2 separate regions of the Homo sapiens genome follow, and region 1 is linked to region 2. Evidence: promoter capture Hi-C in 16 types of primary human blood cells and fetal thymus (Javierre and others, 2016). All regions are on one chromosome and are shown on one strand. Each heading gives the region's core, a stretch centred on a gene start or on the middle of the fragment in contact. The rest is flanking DNA. Distances are from core to core; before and after follow the strand shown.

Region 1 (5,645 bases), core at 2,713-5,212, 3.4 Mb before region 2:
CCGGCTTTCCCGGGTCTTCTCCAGCTGCCACCGCTTTACTGCAAAACTGACGGGCGCAAAAACATGAGTGACTCCGCGGGAGGGCGCGCTGGTCTCCGGCGTTACCCCAAGCTCCCAGTGTGGGTGGTGGAGGATCATCAGGAGGTGAGCGGACGGCAACAGGGCTCTGGGGCAGAATCAGCGGAAGCCCTGACGCTCAGAGGGCCAAGCAGAGGGCGCAACCTTAGCATCGGAGGCCAGAGAGTTAACCAGAGTTAAACTGCCCTATTCCGTTGCTGTGGAGAGGACCCCAAAACAGCTAACTAGGAAGAATGAGAACTGACATTTATGGGCGCTTCCTACGAGTCGGGGCAACTTATTTACCTCGGTTTGCCCCCAAATCCCAGAACCAAACAAAAGGTGGCATCGGGATTCGAAACCGGACAGTCTGGCTGCAGAGCCCTGTGTTCTTAACCTGCAGTTAACTCTGGCTTCCAAGTATCTCCTGGAATCGCCACCACAGCCCTGCTGTTTAGATGGGAGGCTTTATGCTTGGAACGTGGGCTCTGATCTGAAATGGGGACAGTAATCGTAGGACTCACAGGGCTCTTAGGAGTATTATTGTGTGCATACTGTGTTTAAAAATCTTTTTTTTTTCTTTTTTGAGACGGAGTCTCTCTCTGTTACCCAGACTGGAGTGCAGTGGCGCGATCTCGGCTCACTGCAACCTCCGCCTCCTGGGTTCGAGCGATTCTTCTGTCTCAGCCTCCTGAGTAGCTGGGATCACAGGCACGCATCACCGTACCCAGCTAATTTTTGTATTTTTAGTAGAGACGGGGCTTCGCCACGTTAGCCAGGATGGTCTGAAAGTCTGACCTCACGTGATCGGCCCCCGCCGGCCTCCCAAAGTGCTGGGATTGCAGGCGTGAGCTACTGCGCACGGCCCATATTGCGTAAAAAAAAAAAAAAATTTAACACGGTGCCCTGCATAGATAAACACTAAAAGGGGTTTCCATGTTTATGGCCGTGCTGATTTACAGTAGCCAAATTGGTGTCTTAATCTAGACTTTTCCAAGTCAACAAAGGAGGCCCATGGATCTAATAAATATGTTTTAAAGTAGCATCAGTAGGCTTGGGATGGGAGGCAGTTCTCTGGACGTTAAAAAAGAAGAGGGATTTACTGTTGGTGACAGCTAATAGGAGAGGAAGATAGGTTTCTCAGGACCTGGATATAGTGTCTATGACCTTGAGAGAATGAGAAAGCCTAGGTTAGACGGTGCTTTCAAATTAGGTATTAAACCTAGAATTAGAGAAGATGTAAGAGGAGAAATGGCCTTTATAGACCACCTAGCCCAACCCCACCATTCTAAGTGTACCAAAAAGACCCTAACCAGCCTGGACAGCAGAGCGAAATCCCATCTCTACAAAAATAGAAGTGAAAAAATTAGCTGGGCGTAGTGGTGCGTGCCTGTAATCCCAGCTACTCAGGAGACTGAGGTGGGAGGATCGTGTGAACCCAGGAGTCCAAGGCTGCAGTGAGCCATGATCACACCACTGCTTTCCAGGCTGGGCAACTGACAAGCCCCTATCCCTTTTTAAAGGAAAAAAAAGAATACTTTGAGACCTAGGGTACCTTGAACACCTAGTTAATGTTAGAACAGGCATTAAGCGGTAGTTTGTTCCTGAGCCCCAGTCCTGGTCTGTTTCCCCACATGACCTGTTGAGTTCAAGGGGGCAGCAGGAAGGCCGCTGGAGATGCAGGTTGGAAGTTCTGAGGACAAAGTAATGCTTGAGATTATCATCTGCACCATCTACAGTAAACAAATTTTATGTTTTTCCACTTTACAGCAACATAGTATGCTTTCAATTATGTGCATTATTTAGCATTGTTTTTCAGTCTGCAGTTGAGTGTGTGCTCATGGTTTCAGTGTTAATTCTTATTGTGTGCCTGTGTCTTTTACAGGTTCTACCCTTTATATACCGGGCCATAGGCTCAAAGCATCTTCCTGCCAGTAATGTAAGTTTTTTACATTTCGACTCACATCCAGACCTCCTTATTCCTGTGAATATGCCAGCAGACACCGTGTTTGATAAGGAAACACTCTTTGGGTAATATGTGATTTTATTTATGGTCTTTTGTGTTTGAAGTACAATTTGCAGTAGATAATAAGCAATTATAGGAAATAGACTTTGCTAAACTCATGGGTTTGGGGGTTTTTTGTTTGTCTTTTTGTCTTTTTCATTTTATTTAGAACAAGTGTTGACAACTTTCTTAAAGAGCCAGATTAGCAAATATTTTAGGTTTGCTGGCTATATGGTCTCTGTTGCAACTATTAATCTTTGCCTTTGTAGTGTGAAAGCAATCACAAGCACTGTGTAAACAAATGACAGTAGCTGTGTTCCAATAAAGCTTTATTTACAAGCTGGGCATGGTGGATGAGCCTGTAGTCCCAGCTACTCAGGAAGCTAAGGTGGGAAGATCACTTGAGGCCAGCAGTTCCAGGCTGTGATCAAAGCCTGTGGATAGCTGCTGCACTCCAGACTGGGCAACATAACCAGACCCCATCTCTTAAAAGAAACAAACCAAAAAAACTTTGTTTACAAAAACAGCCTAGCCAATGTTTAATCCTTTTAATATTTGCCTTTATAGAGACCATTGGATTCTCACGTCTATTTCTGCATTTAGTCCATTGCCATATGCTGTTTTGGTTGAAATATATGATGAAGATTCAGGCTTTCACAGGCATGTAATTGGAAAAGGAAAGAATATTTTGATAGCCTTTTTAGATAATTGTGAATATTCTTTGATAGTGCGCCAAAACTTGAAAAGTAGTAGTTTATTAAAGCTTATTTGAAATGTAGAATTCAGCAATTCAGTATCAAGTGTGAATAACCATAGTTTCTTGACCACTCCTTTCAAGATAAATGGTGTTCACCTCAAAGTTCAATCACAAGTGCTTTTCCTTGAGACAACTGTTATGCTTCAAACTATGTAGCAGGAGAGCTTTCTGTGCATTTCTCATTTTGCCACACATAATATTTAAAAATGTATACTCAGGATGGAAATTTAATAAAATCAAGATGTTCTCGAATGACACTTTTATATTTATTTATTTATTTATTTTGGCAGTGGTTGGTAATGAAGAATATAGTAACTACTAACAGTTTGGTGCTGCTGCCTTAATTAATGTTGGAACATCAACCCACCAGTGCCTTTGCACCATCTTTGCAAATGTCAGTAAATGAAAACAGGAAATAATGCCTTAGTATTTTCATGAAAATAGTTTTGTAATAGTGATGTCCCTGAAAAAGTCTCAGGAACCACTCTAGGGACCACACTTTGAGACCTGTGGTCTTAAAATGTTGTGGATAAAATTACACTTGGGAAAAAATAAAAATAAAAGTTTTAATGTTGTCTCTATGTTTCTTTTCCAGAGAATTAAGTATTGAAAATTGGATTATGCCTGCAGTTTATGCTGGCCATTTTTCACATGTAATATGGTTTCATCCCACATGGGCTCAGCAGATCAGAGAGGGCAGACACCACTTTTTAGTAGGCAAAGACACTTCTACCACAACAATCAGGTAATTTCCTCATATTTGTGAATATGGAAGTGATTGAATGTTTCTATCTTATTTTGGATTCCTATAATAACTTCATAAGTCTCTGCACACAAATAGGGTCAGATTAAGCCTCGACTTCTCCAAAGAGTTCTCAAAACACGAAGAACAAACTTTTAAGTCTCTTGATATTCTTCATGTACCATTTATATTTAGTTGCTGGTCAAATTAGATTTTGAATGTGATCATTATCCTCCGGAATTTGGGCTTCATTGGTGATTAACTCCTTAAGCCATTGAAGTATCTTATAGATTTATACATTCAGTAGTACATTTTACTGTTTCCTGTCAGTATAACTGTTGTCTGCTGAATTTGCCGCAGTGGCTCACGCCTGTAATCCCAGCACTTTGGGAGGCCGAGGTGGGCAGAAGACGAGGTCAAGAGATCGAGATCATCCTGGCTAACATGGTGAAACACCGTCTCTACTAAAAATACAAAAACAAATTAGCCGGGCGTGGTGGCAGGCGCCTGTAGTCCCAGCTACTCAGGAGGCTGAGGCAGGAGAATGGCGTGAACCCAGGAGACAGAGCTTGCAGTGAGCTGAGATCGTGCCACTGTACTCCAGCCTGGGCAACAGAGTGAGACTCTGTCTCAAAAACAAAACAAAAAACAAACAAACAAAAAAACAGTAATTAGCAGTGAAAGGGCAAAATTATCTCACTTTGATTTTTTTATAAATCCAACTGCTGAATAAGTAGATTTGGGGCTTTAATTTTCTTTATAATATAATTAGTTTCAGATAAGTACTTAATCTAAAGTAAATTACAGTATCCTCTGACTTGAGATAAATATGCAACTGTTTTTATTGTATAAGCTATTTAACAATGTTTTGTGTATCTTGTGATACTATAATACTTTCAGAAATATCAATATGTTCTTGACTTTAAAATTCTCTTGTGATGGGATAAATATTTTAAACAGTATAGCCATAACTTTCTAGAACCTTAAGGATAATGGAGTGAAATGGTAATACGTTGAAAATCAGATAGTCTTCCTCATTGAAAATGATACTTTATTTCTAATTTATTCTTAATGATACAATTAACTTTTGTAGTATATAATCTTGTCGTTTGCACAAATAGCTTTGTTGTGATATATGAAAATTGTATTTATTTCAGATATAATTCAAAAGAAATAATTAAGACTCAGCATATAAATATTGTACATACTACTGGTATATGTGAAATAGTAGTAGGGTTTTTATTGAGTACTTCAGTGAGTAGGCCTGATTTAACCTACAAAATCAAATAATTTTCAGCAATCTGACACAGACATTTGAAACTCCACGTGTGATTAACAATTTTGGAAGATTTTGATTCATGACTTTGGTTAATCCTGCAAGTAAAAATGTATGGAAGAGACACATATACATGTTGGTGTGCAGTTTGACAAATACTTGCATGTTTGTATGATAGGAACATGGGAGAACTGCTGTTATTAAAAAGAATATTAATTTAGGTTGGGGGATACAGCTTCATCTTAGGGTTGTACAGTTTTAATAAGCTTGGACATTAGTTTTACTATGTCATTAATCTATTTTTGGAAAATAGCTTTTACAGTTTATAGCTGTGTATGCTGGGAGAGGTCAAGTGGGAAATAAATATTAACCATGATTTTAGGTGGGTAAGGCATGCCTCTAGAAGAAGTATTTGGCTTCACTGTTTGAAGTATTTACCAAGTCACCTTTCATACTGAGAATATTATGGTTATATAGAAATTAACAAAGCTCTAAAATATGTCAGGGGGAGTTTCTATTAAGAGAAATTATTTCCAGATGAAATTTTTCTCTTCAATGATTTTTTGGATAAAGATTCAGCTGGTATGAGAGAGAACAAAGGAACACTGGCTTAAACAAGAGAGTTTATTCTTATATTAGAATTCACTGTACACAGTCCAGGCCTATGTGGCAGCTCTAGAGTTTGGGGAACCCTAGTTCCTTCTACCTTTTTGCACCACCGTCTCTAGAATATTGCCCCTGTCCTTATAGTCCAGGGTGGCTTGCCACCTCTGTGTTCATATGCCAGTCAGCAGGGAACAGGAGAACA
Region 2 (7,730 bases), core at 85-2,584:
AAAAAAATACTTTCCCTTTCCGTTTTTTTTTTTTTTTTTGTCCCTCCCTTCCCCCCGCCCACCATCCCAATTCTGTTCTCAGGAGGGGAAAGGTTTCATTCTCCCCCAAACTCAGACTTCTCAATCCTTATCCATTACCAATTTACCAACTAACTGAGACTGTGTAGAATCTTCCTCTGGAAAAAAGGGAAGTGTATGAATTCTGAGTAGTGAGTTGGTTGGTCAGTGGCGTGTGAAGTAACCTGATGAAGCTTAGCGTGGGTTTTTTATTTTACTGGGGGCAGCATATTGGGGAAGAGAAGGATAACCTTACTAAACCGCTTGGGTACGCCAACCCTGTGCAATAGATATTAGCAACATAGCTAACCATACATGGTTAGTAAATACAACCCACACCTAACTGATGCATGTAAACATTCCACATTACAGTGAAATATATTGGTGTATTAATGCATTTTAATAATTATGGTATTATTTTGATACCTTTCAAAGTGTTTGGAATAATTGTGCAGATAGTCAGATCAACCAAAACCTACCAGTTAAATACTATCCTTTAACTGCTTTCTTAACCTAAACCAATCTTGGAAAGGTAGGATTAGAGGCCAGAAAGTTAGGATTAAAGTGTGTTGGATGGATAGATCAGCACAATTTCATCCATGTTGGTGGTAAGGCTTTTCATTAAGTGTGTTGATGCTTCCCTTTTAAATTGTTTCCGCTTAAATAATCTAACTGTCCTTTCTCAAGCATATTGGTCAAGATGATCAATACCAGATATCTTAAGTGGCAGCTGAAGAGAATTAAAGAGATTAAAAAAAAAACCTGATATTCAGTCCAACCGAATTCTGCTACTGTATTAGCTGAGGAGGCTTGAGCCAACCACTTGACCACTTGGAGTCTGAATCGCCTTATCTATAAAAACGGGGATCCATTGAGAAATTATAATCAGATATTTTCCAGAATCCTCTCCCATCCCAGCTCCTATCTCCCCCTTCAGCCCTCAGGTCGGCTGCCACTCACACTGACCGCCATCTGTGCCCCTCACAATGACACCAGCGTGGCCCTGCCTCCCTTCCGCGCGGCCCCGCCTCTCGCCCCGCCGAGGCCCCGCCTCTCACACCAAGGTCCCGCCTTCCTCCTGTTCTTCCCGGCCAAGGCCTACCTTCCTCCCACGCGGCCCGCCTCTTTCCCCGCCAAGCTCCCGCCTTTCTCCTGCGCGGCCCGCCTCTCTCCTCGCCAAGGCCCCGCCTTCCTTCCTCGGGGCCTCGCCTCTCACCCCGCCGAGGCCCCACCCCCTCCCGCGCGGCCCTTTCCGGCACAGAGCCCACCCCTAGCCCATGCGAAGCGGCGGCCGCCGGCACCGCCCCCGCCGCGCTCCCGCTTGCCGCAGCCTGCGTCGTCTGCCGCCACCGCGCGCCTTCACTGACCTACACCACCGCCGCCGCCGCCGCCGCCGCCGGGCTCGCTGGCTGGCCCGGTGCGGGCGGCGGACTCCCGCCGGAGAGGACTGCCAGCGCCGCCGCCGCCGCCGCTTCGGCCCGGGCCCGGGCCCCGACCCCGTCCCGGGCCCCAGCGCCGGCCGCCCGCCCGGTCGGGCGATGAAGTGTCACTATGAGGCGCTGGGGGTGCGGCGCGACGCCAGCGAGGAGGAGCTCAAGAAGGCCTATCGGAAGCTGGCCCTGAAATGGCACCCGGGTAAGTACCTGTCCCGCAGCCCCCGCGGCCACTCGGAGAAGCCCGGCCCTCCCCGACCTTCCCTTCCCCCGGGCGGACTCCGCGGAGCCAGCAGAGAGGGACCTGGCGGCCTAGGAGCTCCTTGCCCCGCCCGGCCAGTGCCCGGAGCCGCCCTGCCCGTCTCGGTGGGCGAAGCGCTCTGCCCTGGCGCACCCCGGCTCACACCCCATCTCCTCATACCCGCGACCCCGGCCCCGCATCGCCACTGTAGGGGGAAAACTGCAGTCCAACAACCTCACTTGCTCCCGCTACCGGGTCGCAGACACCACGAGGGAGCAGTCGGGAACTCGGAACTCAGACCTGCCCCAGGCTTGCTTTTCCCTGCGTCCCTTGCAGCGCAGCCTCTCGGTGTTTTTCCTCCGCTGCCCTCCACCTCGTCCGGGAATCCCAGATACTTCAACCTGATGTATGGCTCTTTTCGTTTCTTAGTTAAGAAGTTAAGACACGGGAGCTAGTAAAATATCTTTTCAATAGGGATGCGCTTTTTTCGCTGTTTTTTTTTTCTTTTAATAAGCTGTTTAAGCAGACCTTGTACTTCACTTTGGACATGATTCTGCCGGGGAAGGTTTTAATCAGGCGGCTTCCCCAGTAAAGTTTGTATGTTTACTTAGAAGTATCCTTCCTTTGGATGTTTCATTGGTCTGTAATCCAGGCCTGTGTGACTTTTATGAAGTAATCTGATCTTCCAGGCTGGGAAACTAAGAGAGTAGTTGACTTTCAGCTTTTTGAGGTTCATATGAAGAGGCTTTCATATTAGCATTCATCAGTAAACACGGTTACAGAGTATCCAATATATGCAAGTCACTGCACTCTACTAAGTAGATTTGGAAATGCTGAGACAGGGGTCTTAGAGTCTTGTTAGGAAAACAACTTTCTGCCTTACACAAATGAAAAGTTAAATACAACTGCCAGAAAAAAATCGCAACATACATAATTGGTGGTTAGATTAATGGAACAACTAATATATGCTCCAGGAATTCAGGGAGGGAGTTACCATTTTGTATTGAGTCTTCCCCTTCTCAGAGGAGTTTGGACTGGATCGTAGAGGAATGCAATTTGGAAAAGTGAACTCAACAGTATGGAGGATAGCATGGTGGAGGACAAAAGATGTTCCGGGGGACAGTTTGACTGAAGGTGGTGTGTATTGCAGGTCTGAAAAATAGGGATTATGAGAGGAGTGGAAGGAAAGGTCAGGGACCCAAAGTCAAAAGGGAATGGCTATGGTGATGGAGTGAGAGATAGAGGTGTGGGTCTGTTACTTAAAGTTATGCTTACCAACAGAGGCGTGAAAAAATGTGATTATAAATATATTAGAAGAGCAGAAGTAAATGAACTGATGTTCATCATAGCAGTAAGTCAGAAGATACAGCCAAAATTAATAAATGTAAAAATAGTGTAGAAGTATATTCTTAGAGTTTGGGTTAGTGTAGAAGCATATTCTTAGGAGTTTGGGTTGTTACTGTTAGAAATCAAGTTAGGAATTAGAAGGAAGTTCGGAATTCCTTGACTTTCTAGGTGGGAAAGGGTAAATGAAGTAGCGAATGCTGTGACCAAAAGCGTATGTAATTTTCTGAAGAGTGATTTTAAATCAGATTGTATTTCTTGAGTACAAGAGTAGTTTGAAATCAGATTGTATTTCTTGTAATCTTGAATATTAGCCCAAGGACTGTGAAATTTGCTTCGCTAAATAAGGGAGAGTTGTGGCTGGTTTTATTAAGCTGCCATGGGAGAGTACTATGAAGGCAACTTAGTGGATTGAAGAGGGCTGGAGACAGAAGTTAGGGAGAGTCCGCAGTGGACAGACAGGTAAGGGCCCAAGCCAGGCTTGGGGTCAGCGGGAGGGGGAAAGCGCAAGGGGAGGAGATGTTGGGAAGGAAAAATGACCAGATTTGGTGATTAATTAGAAATCAGTGCTAGGAAGAAGCATGCAAATATGACTAAAGTATCAGTTAACTCCTTTGAAACCAAACCTGTTAGGAACTGAATGCAAATATCTTCTCTAAATATCATCATAATTTATGGCATCAGTGTGATGGTATCTGAGAATGGGCAGCAGGAAGCCCTGAAGAGCCATGTTCTAGGGCGGCAAAACTATTTGTAGATAAGACATTGCTGTCATGTTTTCTTGTAACTTCTTAGAAGGGAAGTATTGAGCTGTAGCTTAAAGAACTTTAGTGTGCTCCGGCCAGGTGCGGTGACTCACACCTGTAATCCCAGCACTTTGAGGGGCTGAGGTGGGCGGATCACCTGAGGTCAGGAGATGGAGACCATCCTGGCCAACATGGTGAAACCCTGTCTCTACTAAAAACACAAAAATTAGCTGGGCGTGGTGGCGCACGCCTGTGGTCCCAGCCACTTGGGAGGCTGAGGCAGGAGAATCGCTTGAACCCAGGAGGCAGAGGTTGCAGTGAGCCAAGATCGCGCCACTGCACTCCAGCCTGGTGACAGAGCGAGACTCCATCTCAAAAAAAAAAAAAAAAACGAACTTTAGTGTTCTCCATAGTCAATTCAAAATGCTTTACGTTCTGAATATATTAGTTGTCTATTGCTGTGTAACAAATTACCAATACCTCAGGGCTTAAGACAACAAACAACAAAAACAGCAAGCCTATGTTGACTATATGGACTCCCACAGTTTCTAAGGATGAGAATCTGGGAGCGGCTTTGCTAGGTGGTTTTGGCTTTCTCATTGTCTGAAAGAACCTGCTTCCAGCTCACCAACTCACCAGCTCACCAACCACCAACTCATGTGGTTGTGGCAGGCCTCAGTGCTCTGCCGGCTATTGGCCTCCTTCACCCCATGAGCTTCTCCAGCTTCTCCATAGGCAGCCTGAGTTGCTCATGCTATGGCAGCTGGCCACTCCCAGAGTGATCAAGAGAGAGGGAAAGCCCAAGGTAGAAACTGCAGTCTTTTATAACCTCATCTCGGAAGTGAGGTACCATTACTTCTGCCATCTCCTGTTGGTCACACAGACTACCCTTGCTGACACAGAAGGGACTGCACAAGGTGTGAATGCCAGGAGGCGGGGTGCTGTCTTGCAAGCTGGGTACCACCCTGAGGCAAGGACGCTTTCTGAATTCCATGGTTCAGGAAGCACAGCTAAGGAAATAATAACTAATTAGTGTATATTTTTTAAACTTTATGAGATTTCTTTTGATATACATTGATGAGAAAGAAAAAAACAATGTCAGCACTAAACATAATCTAGTACAAAATAAGTCTTTCTAGAACTGATTTTATTTATTTTACTCCTTTTAAAAGTAAAATTTATACTACTCAGGTTTTTCCTTTTGTGGATATCCAGTTGACTTGTTTTACTTTTATTTTATTTTATTTTATTCATTTTAGAGATGGAGTCTTGCTGGAGCACAGTGGTGCAATCTAGGCTCACTACAACCTCTGCTTCTTGGGTTCAAGTGATTCTCCCACTTCAGCCTCCCGAGTAGTTGGGACTACAGGCATGCGCCACCACACTGGGCTAATCTTTTGTATTTTTAGCAGAAACGGGGTTTCACCATGTTGACCACCAGGCTGGTCTCAAACTCCTGACCTCAAGTAATCCACCTGCTTCGGCCTCCTAAAGTGCTGGGATTACAGTGGGCGTGAGCCATCACGCCCAGCCCAGTTGACTGTTTAGTGATGTACCAAGGCTTAGGGAAAAGCCTGAAATTTCTGCTTAGATTGTTGCTTTTAACAAATCCTGATTATTGACTGTTACGTGGAGTCTTTCTGCTTGGCCCTGGTTGTTTCTTGTTTTGTGCACGTCTCATCTGTTTGTGGCATTTCTGATGGAAAATGTCTTATTTAGATTCTGTCCTGTACGTTTTTGATTGACTTAAATTTCTGTGACTTTAACAGATAAAAATCTGGATAATGCCGCAGAAGCAGCTGAACAATTTAAATTAATCCAAGCAGCATATGATGTGTTGAGTGACCCTCAGGAAAGAGCATGGTGAGCATCACGCTGTCCTTCCCATCCTAGTTTATGATGTTGGGAGCAGTTATCAATATAGGTGGTTGTTTTTTCAAATTTAGTACATTAAATGGTTTTTGGTGTGTTCTGAAACATCTGTCACCTAGTCATCACATAAAATCTAACGTTTGGGTCAGAAGGAAGCTTGGAAATGATTGCTCCAATTATCTGATATCATAGGGGGTGAAACAAAGTTTGGTGATATTATATAGTTTTAATTTTGATACTTTAGGTGACTTCTCATTAAATACCCTTTGGTGTATGATAGATTTACTGATATCAGACAGGTAGAAGGTTTTCGTTTTTTGTTTTTTTTTGAGACGCAGTTTTGCTCTGTCACCCAGGCTGGAGTGCAGTGGCGCAATCTCAGCTCACTGCAACCTCTGCCTCCCAGGTTCAAGCGATTCTCCTGCTTCAGCCTCCTGAGTAGCTGGGACTACAGGTGTGTGCCACCACACACCTGTATTTTTTTTTTTTTTTTAGTAGAGACGGGGTTTCAGCATGTTGGCCAGGCTGGTCTCAAACTCCTGACCTCAAGCAATCCACCTGCCTTGACCTCCCAAAGTGCTAGGATTACAAGTATGAGCCACTGTGCTCAACCAATACAGTGTTTTAATACAAGAATGGTAATCCTCAAAACTACTTTATATGAAGAAATTGAATTAAGCTTCTGCATCTGTGACAGATATTACTAATGATGGTGTGATCATTTAAAATAATTTCCAGATGAAAATTACTATGTTGAAGTTCTGAGTTTTCAGATTCTCAATTAACTTTTTGCTACAAGGAAATAGGTTTTAAGCTTTGACATAACTGTGCAAGATCCTGCTCTTACAAAGAGCTACTGTGCAAGTCATCTTTCTGTTAAACAGTGTACAACCAGGTGGTTGTCAAGAAAGAAAGGCTGCAAAGAAAATTCTTACAAAATTGTGTTTCATAAGAAACTCAGAGAGAGGATCCTGAACATTTCTCTACTCAAGGAATTTGGAGATCTGGTCTTAGAATTGCTTTTGCCTTCTTCCCAGAACTTTGAAATTCTTTCCTGACTTCCTTTTGCCTACTCTCTTCTCAAGATCTTGGGTTGTTTTCTGATCCTTGGGATTCCTTTGTCTTTTTAGTCAAAGCTCTTGCCTAGTAACTCTCTTTTTACCTGGAAGCAGTACCGTGTAGTGGCTAGGAGCTGGTCTTCCCAATGTAGGAGACCTGCTTCTGAATTCAGACTTTGCTGGTTACTGGTTTTATTATTATGGATGACAAATTATGTAATATCACTGAGCTTCCATTTCCTTTTATATCAGATGGAGATAATAACTGCCTTTACAGAGTTATTATGAGAAGCAATTGTGTGTGTGTGAAGCTCCTAGATTAAGTTGACATAAATTTAGGAAGATTCTTATTCCAGTGCATCTTGGTAAATTTCCAAATCACAGATGTGTAATGATTCTGTGGGCCAGATTTCCTATGTCCTGTTTTATGTTTCTTTCCTGTGGAAGTACGGGACTCAGAGACAGTCATGGAAATTCCTTGGCTTTTTAAATTCCCCTGTTCATGTGGGCTAGCATTGTATAATGTATCAGAAGTTGCAGGCCTAGTTATAATTAACAGTTCTGTGAAAGATTATGAACTCTTTTCATGTTAATATTTCATTAAAAATTTTTGGTTATGGATTGGACATATCAACAACCAAAAATGTACAATAATAATATTCAAAAGGAGCAAGAAATCCTTTTGAATTCTTACTTATTCAGCCTTCACAATGATGCTAATTTTTGTTTTTCAGGTATGATAATCATAGAGAGGCCCTACTTAAAGGTGGGTTTGATGGCGAATATCAAGATGACAGCTTAGATTTGCTACGCTATTTCACCGTTACCTGTTATTCTGGTTATGGAGATGATGAAAAGGTAAGATAAATGAACTCACCCTTGATTTCTCATCAAGTACTTCATTAAGACTCACATACAAAGAGAATTCTTAAAACTATTCTGTAATAGAAAGTGAAGCAGTGTTCATTTTGAAAACTGA

What was found. The method cuts DNA at HindIII sites, captures the fragments that hold promoters and counts their contacts. A CHiCAGO score of 5 or more calls a contact.
Region 1: a fragment that was not itself captured here is called in contact with the fragment with the promoter of DNAJC21 in region 2 in 5 of 17 cell types (total B cells, M2 macrophages, total CD4 T cells and 2 more); the score reaches 9.4 in total B cells.

The regions. Positions count from the first base shown.
Region 1 is chr5:31,532,330-31,537,974 of GRCh38, forward strand. It overlaps C5orf22 (chromosome 5 open reading frame 22), which reads left to right. Exons shown (of 9, transcript NM_018356.3): 1 at 1-144; 2 at 1,943-2,088; 3 at 3,415-3,564. The coding sequence starts at 64. Among named protein-coding and RNA genes, the nearest start is that of C5orf22, 2.9 kb to the left of the region's middle. RefSeq lists enhancers at 1-13, 44-93, 144-193. The HindIII fragment of the contact is 2,278 bases long and covers 2,824-5,101 here.
Region 2 is chr5:34,928,225-34,935,954 of GRCh38, forward strand. DNAJC21 (DnaJ heat shock protein family (Hsp40) member C21) reads left to right here and starts at 1,335. Exons shown (of 12, transcript NM_001012339.3): 1 at 1,335-1,692; 2 at 5,591-5,684; 3 at 7,486-7,609. The coding sequence starts at 1,596. LOC124900961 (a long non-coding RNA gene) reads right to left here and starts at 1,457. Exons shown (of 2, transcript XR_007058731.1): 1 at 1,425-1,457; 2 at 1-909. RefSeq lists silencers at 1,011-1,480, 1,491-1,560, 1,591-1,790 and enhancers at 1,819-2,464, 1,931-2,100. The HindIII fragment of the contact is 5,598 bases long and covers 250-5,847 here.